3 separate regions of the Homo sapiens genome follow, and regions 1 and 2 are each linked to region 3. Evidence: promoter capture Hi-C in 16 types of primary human blood cells and fetal thymus (Javierre and others, 2016). All regions are on one chromosome and are shown on one strand. Each heading gives the region's core, a stretch centred on a gene start or on the middle of the fragment in contact. The rest is flanking DNA. Distances are from core to core; before and after follow the strand shown. Region 1 overlaps NEK1 (NIMA related kinase 1). Region 2 overlaps NEK1 (NIMA related kinase 1). Region 3 holds the start of DDX60 (DExD/H-box helicase 60).

Region 1 (4,346 bases), core at 1,222-3,721, 1.3 Mb after region 3:
CATTTTGTTCTGTACTAAGAACAAATTCTTCTGCCTTGGGATCCTGTTGATCTGTGACCTTACCCCCAACCCAGTGCTCTCTGAAACATGTGCTGTGTCCACTCAGGGTTAAATGGATTAAGGGCGGTGCAAGATGTGCTTTGTTAAACAGATGCTTGAAGGCAGCATGCTCATTAAGAGTCATCACCACTCCCTAATCTCAAGTACCCAGGGACACAAACACTGCGGAAGGCTGCAGGGTCCTCTGCCTAGGAAAACCAGAGACCTTTGTTCACTTGTTTATCTGCTGACCTTCCCTCCACTATTGTCCTATGACCCTGCCAAATCCCCCTCTGCGAGAAACACCCAAGAATGATCAATAAAAAAATAAATAAATAAATAAATAAATAAATAAATAAATAAATAAAAAGAATAAAAGCTTAGCCTGGTTGCGGTGGCTCATACCTGTAATCCCAGAACTTTGGGAGGCCAAGGTAGGTGGATTACTTGAGGCCAGGAACTATTTGCCAGGAACTAGTGAACAACAACAAAAATCCCTACCCTCATGAATTTCTGCACTGTAGTGGAGGAAACTGGTAATAAACTAATTGAAAATAGATTAGAAAGTGATAACATTGTGGAGAAAAACAAAGCAGAGTAAAGTAGAGTAGAAACGTGGGAATGGCGTAGAGGGATGGTTATTACTTGATATAGTGTGATCAAGAAAGGCTCTATTCATAAAGCAAGTTTTGAGCACAGACCTCAAAGAAAAGACAGCAGCAAGTACAAACTTGTTTTTGCAGGTAAGTACTTGGCATGTTTAAGGACAACAGGTTTGGCAAGGCTGTACCGGGACTAGCAAGGGAAGAGTAGCAAATGAGACTTGGAAAGGTAATGAGGCTGTCGGGGGCTTTGTAGACAGTTGTAAAGACTCTGGCTTGCTTTTTTTTCTTGAAACCAAGTCTCACTCTGTCTCCAGGCTGGAGGGCAGTGGCATGATCTCAGCTCACTGTAACCTCTGCCTCTCAGGTTCAAGCAATTCTCCTACCTCAGCCTCCTGAGTAGCTGGGATTATAGGCACACACCACCATGCCCAGCTAATTTTTTTTTTTTTTTTGTATTTTTAGTAGAGAAGGTGTTTCACCATGTTGGCCATGATGGTCTCAATCTCTTGACATCGTGAGATCAAGGTCACAAGGCCCACCTCCCAAAGTGCTGGGATTACAGGCAGGAGCCACCGGGCCCGGCCGACCCTGGCTTTTACTGAGTGGGATGAAAAGACACTGAAAAGTTTCAAGCAGGAGAGTGTAACGATCTGACTTCCATCATAAAAGGAACATTTGGGCTGCTCACATGAGAACAGACTAAGAGGGTAAGTCTGAAAGCAGTTAGACTAATCATGAGATTATTATAACCCTGGTGGAAAGTGAGGGTGGCTAGGACTAATATGGTGGTAAAAATAATGAGAAGTAGTCAGACCGTGAATATATTTTGAAGTCACAATTGACAGGATATGACGTAGAAAGAGTAGTCAATAATGACTCCAATATGGAAGATGAGAACAAATGGAAGGGCAGAGTTCCCATTTACTGAAATAAGTAAGATCAATTTGGAGAGAGAATGAAATCAAGAGTTCATTTTTATATATGGTAATTTTGAGATGTCTATTAGAAACACAGCTGGAGATGTTAAGACAGGTATCAGTCTCCAGTTCAGGAAAGGAGTCCAAGGTGGAGATACAAATTTGAGAGTCAGCTTATAGATGTTATCCATTAGAAAGTTCGTATGGATACAAAAAAGAAGATATCTGAGGCCTGAGACCTTGAGCACCTCAGCATTTAAAAGCCCTGGAGGTGAGGAGGAACTTGCAAAGGAGGCTGAGAAGCAGCAGTCAATGAGGTAGGAAGAAAACCAGAAGAATGTAATACCAGGGACTCAAATGAAGAAAATATTTCAAGAAGGAGGGGGCAATCAAGTGAGTCAAAAACTGAGGTCAAGGAAGAAGAAAAATGACCCATGGATTTAATAATATAGACATCAGGAGCCATTTCACAACAGCTGTTTCATAACAGCTGTGACAAAGAAAGCCATGAGTGAAGTGGGTTCAAAATGAAATGAACTGGAGACAGTATAGACAATCTTTTGGGAAAGTTTTGTTGTTAAAGGGACCAGAAATATAGAGAGGTAGTTGGAAGGACATAAGGGAAAGTTCCTTTTTAAAAAGACTTAAGATATAGGATATTTGTTTGCTAACATGAATGATTCAGTAGAGAGAAAAAACTATAATGATGCAGGAGAGAGCGCAAAGTCCTTTAGCAGGCAAAAAAGAATCACAGTATGCAAATGATTGAGTTGATCCTAACTGGGAACAGAAACAGGTCATCCAAAGTAAAACGAAGAAAGGTAAAATATTTGCCAACAGGTAAGACTGACTAGCAGAAGTAATTGTGGGAAAGTTTTCTTCCAATTGCTTCTATTTTCTCAGTGAAGTAGGAAGAAAATATTGGTCCTTGTGAAAAGCAAAGAGAAGGTAAAAAATAATCACCTAGGAAGTAGAAGAGTAAATACACTGAGGAAATATAATAGGGTGACCAGAAGGTGCTAATTTGATATTGTTGGTTACATATTGAAAGTTAGACTAGTTACAATAGTCATATGCTTTCTCCAGCCATATTCCACTGACCAGCTTCAGGCACAAATGAAGTGGAGAGTTGGATTTCACAAAGTTAAGTTTTTTGGTTATTGGTAATAATGGAAGAGAGGGCAAGAGAGCTGACCATTTGGAAATTATTATAAATGAATATGGAATTTAAGCCAGGTAAGGAAAATAGAAACAAAGAGGGGGAATAAAGGAAGTTATTAGGATTCATGGATCCAAATGGGACAGATGTTTTGGAGGCAGACTCCTAAAGAAGTAAGCTAGAAACACAGGAAGTGGTGATCAGGGAACGGGATGATTATAAATGAGGCTAAGAAAGAGTTGTTATTATTGATAATAAAAATTTTAATGGCATGGCCATAGGTGAGAGTTTCAAGTTAAAGTGGGAGACAAGATATTTGAAAGAGAATGATCAAGAAAATAAGCCAGGCACGGTGGCTCATGCCTGTAATCCCAGCACTTTTTGGGCAGCCAAGGCAAGAGCATTGCTTGAGCCCAGGAGTTTGAGACAAGCCTGGGTAACATAGTGCAACCCCACCACTACAAAAAATAAAAAATTAGCTGGGTGTAGTGGCACTTGCCTGTGGTTCAGCTACTCAGGAAGTTGAGGAGGTGGATTGCTTGAGCTCAGGAAGTTAAGGCAGCAGTGAGCCATGACCGCACTACTGTCCTCTAGCCTGGGCAACAGAGCAAGACTCTTTCTCAAAAAGAAAAGAAAAGAGAAAGAAAGAAAATGAAAACAAAAGGCCATGTTCTATAGGAAGTATCATCTTTTTTTATACTAAAACTGTAAAGAATTATGACAATATTGGAAGGAGTGACAGTGAGTCAGGTGTTAAACTCTTCAAAAGACAAGGGTTGGCGGGGCGTGGTGGCTCATGCCCGTAATCCCAGCGCTTTGGGAGGCCAAGGCGGGCGGATCATGGGGTCAGGAGATCGAGACCATCCTGGCTAACATGGTGAAACCCCGTCTCTAATAAAAATACAAAAACAAAATTAGCTGGGTGTGGTGGCGGGCGCCTGTAGTCCCACAGTCCCAGCTACTCAGGAGGCTGAGGCGGGAGAATGGCGTGAACCCGCGAGGCGGAGCTTGCAATGAGCTGAGATTGTGCCACTGCACTCCAGCCTGGGCGACAGAGGGAGACTCCACCTCAAAAGAAAAAAAAAAAAAAAAAAGACAAGTGTCTACAGATGATCCTAACACAGAAGAGCAGTAGGTGATACAGTCTGGTAGCAAAAGCATCAAGGTAGAGAGATGAGGAGAATGGCAGGATCAGGCAGCAGGGAGAGTCTGGCAATGAGAAGCAAGGGAAACATTTCCTTCATCCTACCTCTAGACCCAATAATATTAAGGGATTAGAGAAAACAGCCAGCATGTAAGACAGCTGCAGAACAGTGTGTTCAGGGACAAACCAGGTTTTCAAGCAAAAAAGGTGAAGACATCTTTAGAAGTTTAAAATACAGTGGATTTTGCCAAGAATGTACTATAAGAGAGTTTTCTGGAAGAGATTACAGGTTGGTGCAAAAGTAATGGCGGTTTTGCTTTCAATGACAAAAACCCCAACTACTTTTGCACCAACCTATAGAAAACTATGCAGGGGTGGGGGCAGATCAGAGTATGACCAGAGTCTTACAGCAATAGGAGAGTCTAGGCAGTGAGGGAAAGCTGGAGTCCTAGGCTTCCTGTGGTGACTGAAGTAAAGAGAGA
Region 2 (4,080 bases), core at 153-2,652, 1.2 Mb after region 3:
AACTCCTGATCTCATGATCCACCTGCCTCGGCCTCCCAACATGCTGGGATTACAGGCGTGAGCCACTGCACCTGGTCTGGGGTAGCACTTTTAATTTCCTTCAGGAACTTTTCCTTTGCATTCACAACTTGGATAACTGGCGCAAGAGGCTTAATTCTGTGCCTATCTCAGCTTTCAATATGCCTTCATCACCAAGCTTAATCTTGATTTCAGGTGACAGACATGCAACTCTTTTACTTGAATACTTAAGAGGCCACTGTAAGTCATTAAGTGGCCTAATTTCAATATTATTTTGTCTTAGGGAATAAGATCTGAGGAGTGAGACAGGGGAACTACCAGTCAGTGGAGCAATTAGAACACACACATTCATCAATTAAATTTCCCATCTTATATGGGTGAAGTCTGTGGTGCCTCAGAACAATTACAACAGTAATATCAAAGATATAATGACAATAATGAAAAAGTTTGAAATATGGCAAGAATTACAAAAATGTGACACAAAGACACAAAATGAGCAAAAGCTGTTGGGAAAATGACACTGATAGACTTGCTTGATGCAGGGTTGCCACAAACCTTCAATTTGTAAAAAATGCAGTATTTATGAAGCACAATAAAACAAAGTATGCCTGTATTTATTTTGTTCAAAAAAGGATGGAAACATTGCTTTAGTCCCATAGTTCAGTATTATTGAAAAAGTATACTGATATTTAAGATGTTACTACAAATAGGCCGGGCGCAGTGGCTCACACCTGTAATCCCAGCACTTTGGGAGGCCAAGGCGGGTGGATCACAAGGTCATGAGTTTGAGACCAGTCTGGCCATCATGGTGAAACCCTCTCTCTACTAAAAATACAAAAAATTGGCCGGGCATGGTGGTGTACACCTGTAGTCCCAAGTACTCGGGAGGCTGAGGCAGGAGAATCACTTGAACCCGTGAGGCAGAGGTTGCAGTGAGCCGAGACTGTGCCACTGCACTCCAGCCTGGGCGACAGAGTGAGACTCTGTCTCAAAAAAAAAAAAAAAAAAAGTTACTACAAATAACTTTTAAAAATATCTAGAGCTCACCTAACAGTATTATCACCTTGAAAGATTATATCTAAATATTTTGAAACTTTGTTTGTTTTAATTACTATAGTATATAAATTCAAATAAGGTTTCATACACTGAGAGAATAAAAACAAGCTCCAAAGTTGTTCTGAATAGTAGCAGTATTTTTAGAACAAATATGTTATTTCTCTAGATGATTACTTAAAAGAAATATACTTTGAATGAACACATTCTGCTATTTTTATTTAAATCAGTAATCACTTCTCTACCACATACTAGGATTACAGTTATGTGCCACCATGCCCAGCACATTTTTGTATTTTTAGTAGAAATGGGATTTCACATGTTGGCCAGGCTGGTCTCGAACTCCTGACCCCGTGATCTGCCTGCCTTGGCCTCCCAGAGTGCTGGGATTACAGGCGTGAGCCACCGCGTTTGGCCTGCTATTTCGATACATCAATCTGACACGATTTCTGTGAGAAGACAAATCCACAATATTTGACAAAAATTATCAATAAATTAAAATACATATTAATACCTATTAAGGCCAAGCACAGTTCTAGATAATGATATCCAAAATGAATTAGACACAATATTTTCTCTGAGGGGACTGTAAATTAGAAAAGAAAAAAGAACACATAAATCAATCAGTATGTTACAGAGAAAAAAATAAAGAGATAAGTACTAAACGATCTGGGGAAGAATGAAACAAAAAATATAGAAAGAACTAACTCTGTAAAGCCAAGAGGGGCACCAGTGAGAACAGCCTTCGCAGAGCAGCCAATGGTCAGCCATTCATTGTTCGGGAAGGCCATAAAACACAGATAAAGTAGGACAGTTGTACATTCAAATCCCAAAACACTCACCAGTCCTGTGATTTTTCATTGTTTTTATCCTCTCTGAACCTCACAGTTTTTCTCTAAAATAGAAATGCTGTACTCTTTGCCTCTCTGCTATAGGGATTGCATGAGATAATTTACGTAAAGTACACATCTGTGTACCTAATAAATAGTAGCAATTGTTATTTATTTGGTTTCCATTAAATAAGGTTATTTGGCTTAAACACTACAAGTCTGGTTTTAGTTCCTGATGAAATGTATTAAGTTTCAGAATGCAAGTTTCTCATCTTTAGAATGCAGACTAAAAACAAAAACCTCCTATCTTAACCATGATCAGAAATTAAAATTTGAGCATTGTGAGAGACAAATTTATTGGCACTTTTATAATAATGATCTTCAGCAGCCTTCAGTAAATGCTTATGTTCTATAATCAAATGCATACTGATCTCTCCTCTGAGTCAACTAAACCAAACAGATTAGAAGAACCTAAACAGACAAATTCAGACATGGAATCTAAATAAATGAACAAAGACAGATTACTAACTCTTACAATAACTTAAGAAGACAACTAAGTTACTGAAAATTTATGGGTGGTTCAGGATGACTACTGAAATGTGGCAACATCATTATAAGCTAATGTCATACACTTAAGTAACTTATTAGTACAGTTGAATTGGGCCTTCTGTATAAATATCATGGTGTATTATTTATAATCAGAACCTTAAAGCTTTTCAATATTAACTACATCTTGAGATAAAAGATGATAATGTACTTCTAATTATTGAAAGATAAACCATTACACTAAGCCTTTTATACGGAAAGTTGAGCAAATATGACATATCACAAAAATTAACTAAGCCAGGAAAACAATATAAAGTTTCATATAAGAGAAAAATATAAAAATTTGGAACAAAGAATGACCCAATTTTATTATACAATTGATCACCCAGCTAAATCTATAATATATATTTCATTCTAAACATACTTTTTCACTGGGTGCAATGGCTCACACCTATAATCCCAGCACTCAGGAGGCTGAGGCAGGAGGAGCACTTGAGCCCAGGAGTTTGAGACCCAGTTAATTTTCTTTTTTCTTGTAGAAATGGAGTCTCACCAGACCAGTGAGACTCCATTTGTACAACAAATAAGAACATTAGCTTATGTATGGTGACGTGTGCTAAGGGTCCCAGCTATAGACAGGCTGAGGCAGGAGGATCCCTTGAGCCCAGCAGGTCGAAATTGCAGAGAGCCATGTTCACACCACGGCACTCCAGCCTGAGTGACAGAGCAAGACCCTGTTTCAAAACAAAACAAAACAAACAAAGCACAGTCTTTCAAAGTTTAACCACAGTTTTAAATATAAAAATGTGCAAAAAAAAAGATAAAACATTGACCTGAAAGTTTCATAATTCAGTTTTAAAAGAAATGCTTTAGAAGCTTTTTTTTTCTTAGCCATTTTTCTCACAAGGTTCATAAATTTAAGGCTTTTCAACATTGCTTTTATTGTCACAAAAGGTTTTCAATTATCGCTGTAAAACTGTTTCTACTTCACGTGTCAATTTTGCCATGTGCTGAAAAATTAAGCAGCAGTGCCACCAAATGACGAAACTCAAAATTTCACCAAATAGTGAGGCGAGGCTTACAAACACATGAAACCACCAGTCTGCCTACTCTTGATGTCTGCCTACTCTTGATCAATAACAAACATATTTTCATCTTTATGCTGACTTATTAGTAAGGATTTAATGTATGCTAGGAAAGTATTAAATGACTTAGTTTCATATTTTGAATAGAGTAATTTCACACAGTTTTATACAGCCTAAAGATATATCATGGCCAAATCTTATCAAATTCATATTTAATGTCTCAAAACCTTATCTTTGAAGAACCAATAGTATAAAAGTATTTGTATTTGAATAAATTTTCTTAACTAGTATTGCCATAATGCTTTTATAAGAATATCTAAGAATAAGAACAAGGTAGCCAGAAGCAATGAGTGTGTACACCCTGTGGGGAGCCTTACAGGCGTGCATGGAAAGTCTAAAAATAAGACAAAGATGGAAACAGAAATACACAAGAATTTACATTCAAAATATTTTATCCAACCTAACCAAGACAGAATCTCCCTAATTCTATTTTTCACTGAATTTTAATTCTTAAAACATTGCTACCCTTTTAAAAAACTGAATCGATC
Region 3 (4,752 bases), core at 251-2,750:
ACAATCATAAGACCACAAATCTTACAAACGAATAAATTAAAAGGGGATGAAAGAAATTGCAAGAACCTTATAAGGCTTATCCTCCAATCACAGTAGTGTCAGAACCATATTCTGATTCAAACAATCTTAAAAAGGAAGAAGAAAAGAAGAAGGGAGGAAGAGAAATGGAAAAGAGAAAAAAGGAGGGAAGAGGAAAGGCGCAAAGGGGAGGTAAAGAGGAAAAAAATGGGGGCAAGGGAAGGGAAAGGAAATCATGGATTCTGTATTGGAACAGAATGGTGGAGCTACTTGATGAAAGGCATCAAGCTCCTGAAACCCTGCCTGGAGAAGAGCTGGTGGGTTAAAATGGCTTCCAGTACCCGGTATAACCCTCTCCCCTTGAGTGTGGACAGGACCTGTGAATTTAATGGCATAGTCTCTTTAATGATTCGGTTATATTATGTAAGACTTCATCATAGTAGACTCGGGAGATTCCCCCAAAGAGGCTTATACCTTCTTTAAAGGTACCCTATACCTTCTTTAACGGTATAAGCCACCTTGTTGTGAGAAGGCCACTGTAGCTAAGATCTCAGGGTGAAATCTAAAGACATGGGAACCCCCAGCCAACAGCCAGCAAGAAAGCAGGTAACCTCAGTCCTTTAGCTGCAAGAAACTGAATTCTTCCAACAACCTGAATGAGCATCCATGGTGTCCCATGAGGCCACAGCTCTGACACCTTGATTTCAGCTCGATGAGATGCTGAACAGAGAACTCACTTTACCCATGCCTGGGCTTCTGATCCACAGCAATTGTAAAATAATAAACTTGTAATGTTTTAAGCCACTATACCTGCCCCTTGACCAGGAATAAATTAAGTTACTGGAGTAGGAAATAAATTTCTATTGTCTTAAGCCACTGAAATTTAAGGGTGCACAGAAATTACCTGGGGGAATCTTATTAATAAACGCAGATTCTGATTCTACAAGTCTGGAGCAGGGATTGAAGGTGGAAGCTTCTTGCTGCTGTCAATGTACAGGTTTTACTGGCTGTGCTTAGATATGATGTCCCTTAATTTCTCCTCAACCTCCATTACCCAGCTCCCACCTTTGACGGGGACTCCTTAAATGCCTAACTAAGCACTCCTCTCTGTCTCAGACTTCAGGCCTTTCGCGGTTGTCCCTTTCCTCCGCCCCTCCCCACGCCCGGCCTTCCGGGCCAGCAGGGGGCCCGTGCGCCACGGCCTTGCGATCCCAGGAGGTTCCCCAGATTCCCGCGCCCCGAGCCCAGCACTCCTGGGCCACCTCCCTGTCCGGTCCGTTGAAGAAGACCTAGAACTCCCGCTAGACAGCTCCGCCCCAGGCTCTTCCCAAGGGACATCCCCGGCTCCTCACCGCGGACTCAGGACCGGTGGTGTCCAAAGACCCGCGAGCTGCGCGCCCCGCGGGGAGGGAGTGAAACAGAGACCTAGCGCAGAGCCCAGGTGGAAGTTCCAGGTTACCCCAGACCTGGCCTAGGACTCGGCGCTCTGAGCCACCGCAGCCAGTCTTTTATGCATCCGGCGGGAGTTTCGGTTTCCTTTCTCCTCTCAGAAGCACTTAGGTTTCAGTTTCCCTTCAGCACGAATTAGGCGAGGCACTTTCGTGGAAAGTTTAGCATCCTTCCCTTCAATCAGAATCTTAAGAAGGGGAGCATGGCGAGACGTTAGTTAAAAGGTATGAAGTTACAATAGCTAGGAAGAACCAGTTCTGGTATTCTATTCTGCAGTAGGGTGTGTATAGTTAACAATAATGCATATTTCAAAATAGCTAGAAGAGAGAATTTTGAATATTCTCATCACAAAGAAATAGTAAAGTTTTGAGGTAATAGATGGGCTAATTATCCTGATTTGATCATCACACAATGTATACATGTATTGAAACGTCACATTGTACCCCAAAAATATATACAATTATTATGCGTCAATTAAAAATAAAATGAAACTAAAAAAAACCTTAAAAGAGAGAGACAAAGGCAATAAAAATGGGCTTTGGAATTTGGGCATAAATATAGAGTAAATTGAGGCAGAAAAATTTGTAACATCTAAACAAGATAAAATCAAGAAGAGTTAGAATTTAGAAATTGATAAAATGTAAAAGACACTGTGGAATCTGAAACCCCACAATGAAATTGGAGATCTTGCTGCTTCTACTTGTATGCAAAAAGAAAAAAGAAAGTATGTAACAATACATGAACTTTGAGTTTCTGTTATGAGAAGCTGATGATTACTGTTCTGTATAAACTGTAATTGGTACTTTCATGGGCCAAGAATCAACATTAAAAAATAAATTGAAAATGCAGAATGGTCACATTTATTTGTGCCTCAAATTGATGAAATGTTCTCTTAATTTTTGCCTGTTGATACTTGCAGTGTGGGTTTCGATACTCATCTCCTTTCCTTTCAGTGCCCTCGTATGCTTGATTTCATTAATGCTATAAATATGCATTCATATATTGGAAATAGAAGAGGGTGTGGAGGAAAGACAGCAGTGAATTTGGGTAATCAGCATGATAAGAAGCCACAGGCTGCTTTGTCTACAAGGAAAGGAAAGAGCCAAGGTCCAGGCACTGCTCCACAGGGAACACAGAACAGAGAGAGTAGTGAATGATACTTTGTCTTGTGAAAAATTAGAGAGTCAAGTTGTTAAAAGAGGGGGATATGGGGAAGGAGGACATTTCTCACATCCATCAGACAATTACTTGTTTATTCATTTGTTTAGAAATTCACGTGTTTGTTAGTGATGAGATTAAGAAAGAAAATAAAAGACTCTAGAATTTAACACATGATTGGTCTTAAATCAGCCAATATTCCTGTCTCCTTCACTGTGATCTCTGATGTACCTGCCTGGGGTAGGCTGAATAATACCCTGCACTCCTCCCTCCAAAAGAGGCCAAAATCCTAATTCCTGGAACCTATGAATACAGTAACTTTCATAGCAAAAGTAACTTTGCAAAATAGATTAAATAAGAATCTTTAGAAGAGGAGATTACCCCTTACCCGGGATTATCCAGGTGGGCCCAAGGTCATCAGAAGGGCCTTTATAAGAGGGAGACAGGAGTTCGAGGGGCAATGTGATGATAGAAACAGTCAGTGACAGAATGTGGGGACACTACACAGATGGCGTTGAAGACAGTGGAAGGGACCACGGGCCAAGGAGTCTGGTGGTCTCTAGAAACTACCAAAGGCAAGGAAACATTTTTTTTTTCTAGAGCCTCCAGAAATCAGCCCTGATAACACCTTGACTTCAGCCCAGAGAGACTGATTTTGAACCTCTGAGCTCAGAACTGTAAGAGAACAAACTTGTGTGGTATTAAGCCACTAAATTTGTGGTAATTTGTTACAGCAGCCATAGAGAACTAATACAATATTGCAAACTGTATTGTAGGAAATGAATAACATATTTGCAAACAGCAGAAATAATGGATTGTGTTATAACAAGAGGTAGAATTAATTCAGACAGCTACTATGTGCTAAGCAATATGCTAATACCATATCAATGATCACAGCAAGTTCATGAGGTGTGTACTATGATTTCTGTCATTCTGTAGATAAGAAAAATAAAGCTTCGAGGGATAAAACAGCTAATAAATTATACTAAGATTCAAAATGTGGTCTAACCCAATGGCCTATCTACAACATTCTCTATTACATAATTTCATCAAATGCTTCAAATTCTACAACTGAAAGTGTTTCAGCTAGTGGACAAATGATTTTTTTTTGCTTAAATTATAAAGTTTTTTAGAATATATGATGTTCTACAGTTGTTTCGACTTTCAGTGACCGGATTTATCAGGTGAGAGTTCAAGACAACTTTGACTCATCCTCTTCAATTTTCCACCCCAAAGTATGTAAACACACAGAAACTTTTTATTTTTTTTTTACTTTTTCACTTCAACAGCCTACTCCCATGACCACACCCTGGACTTTGTTCTGAAGCTTGATAGTCACGTACTTTATTTTTCCTTTTAGACCCCTCCCTTTATGCCCTACACTTTAACCTCTGAGGACTCCCAAATGTTTGTCCTATCAGGGTGAACTCCATGAGCCAACACTTCAACTCTCCTCTTAATTAACATGTTCAACTGCTTGAACCTACTGACTTTCCTCTACACTTGCCTATAATTTGTTAATCCTGATTAATTCAAGTTTTCTTTTCTTTTTGATACCTGGCCACCAAGGGGAATGACCCAGTTAGGATCTCATCAAATGTATTATTTAACAACACAGCTGATACCTTTTTTTCTGTTCCCCTCAGCCTTCTGCATATTTCACAATGACAGTTACAATTCAGCACTTTACCATTCTCAAGTCTTTTAAATGATAGACCATCTCTTCTGTTTTCAAGGAGAATTCTCTCCAGCTTTCTGATAACTCCATATTCCAGTCTCACACAGAGTTTAAGCAGAACACACAGCATGCCACTTACACACAACATAACTAGCCTTCTAGATCTGGGTTTGGATCTCCCCTCAAGCATCCTAGCCCATCATTCTTCAGTTTGTTGTGTATTTTAACATCTCTTTGTCAACTAAAACATAGTGTTCATTCCACTAATAGGTTCAATTAGAACCTATTCAATTCAATAGAACTCAATTCAATAGAATTCAATTCTAATTGAACCTATTGAATTGAATAGGTTCAATAGGTTCAAACTTCCATTTTCAAACAATAAGAAAAATGATGTCATGCCCGATTTCAGCCCTTCTCTTTTCAGCATGGTGCCCTGTAGTGGTCTT

Evidence for each region. The method cuts DNA at HindIII sites, captures the fragments that hold promoters and counts their contacts. A CHiCAGO score of 5 or more calls a contact.
Region 1: a fragment that was not itself captured here is called in contact with the fragment with the promoter of DDX60 in region 3 in 7 of 17 cell types (total B cells, activated CD4 T cells, naive CD8 T cells and 4 more); the score reaches 11.7 in total B cells.
Region 2: a contact is called between a fragment that was not itself captured here and the fragment with the promoter of DDX60 in region 3, in 2 of 17 cell types (naive CD8 T cells and naive B cells). The highest score is 5.2, in naive CD8 T cells.

Annotation. Positions count from the first base shown.
Region 1 is chr4:169,570,816-169,575,161 of GRCh38, forward strand. The region is part of intron 12 of NEK1 (NIMA related kinase 1); the gene reads right to left. Among named protein-coding and RNA genes, the nearest start is that of NEK1, 40 kb to the right of the region's middle. The HindIII fragment of the contact is 4,110 bases long and covers 417-4,346 here.
Region 2 is chr4:169,482,858-169,486,937 of GRCh38, forward strand. The region is part of intron 23 of NEK1 (NIMA related kinase 1); the gene reads right to left. Among named protein-coding and RNA genes, the nearest start is that of NEK1, 130 kb to the right of the region's middle. The HindIII fragment of the contact is 2,417 bases long and covers 195-2,611 here.
Region 3 is chr4:168,317,252-168,322,003 of GRCh38, forward strand. DDX60 (DExD/H-box helicase 60) reads right to left here and starts at 1,501. Exons shown (of 38, transcript NM_017631.6): 1 at 1,371-1,501. RefSeq lists an enhancer at 1,435-1,764. The HindIII fragment of the contact is 2,588 bases long and covers 990-3,577 here.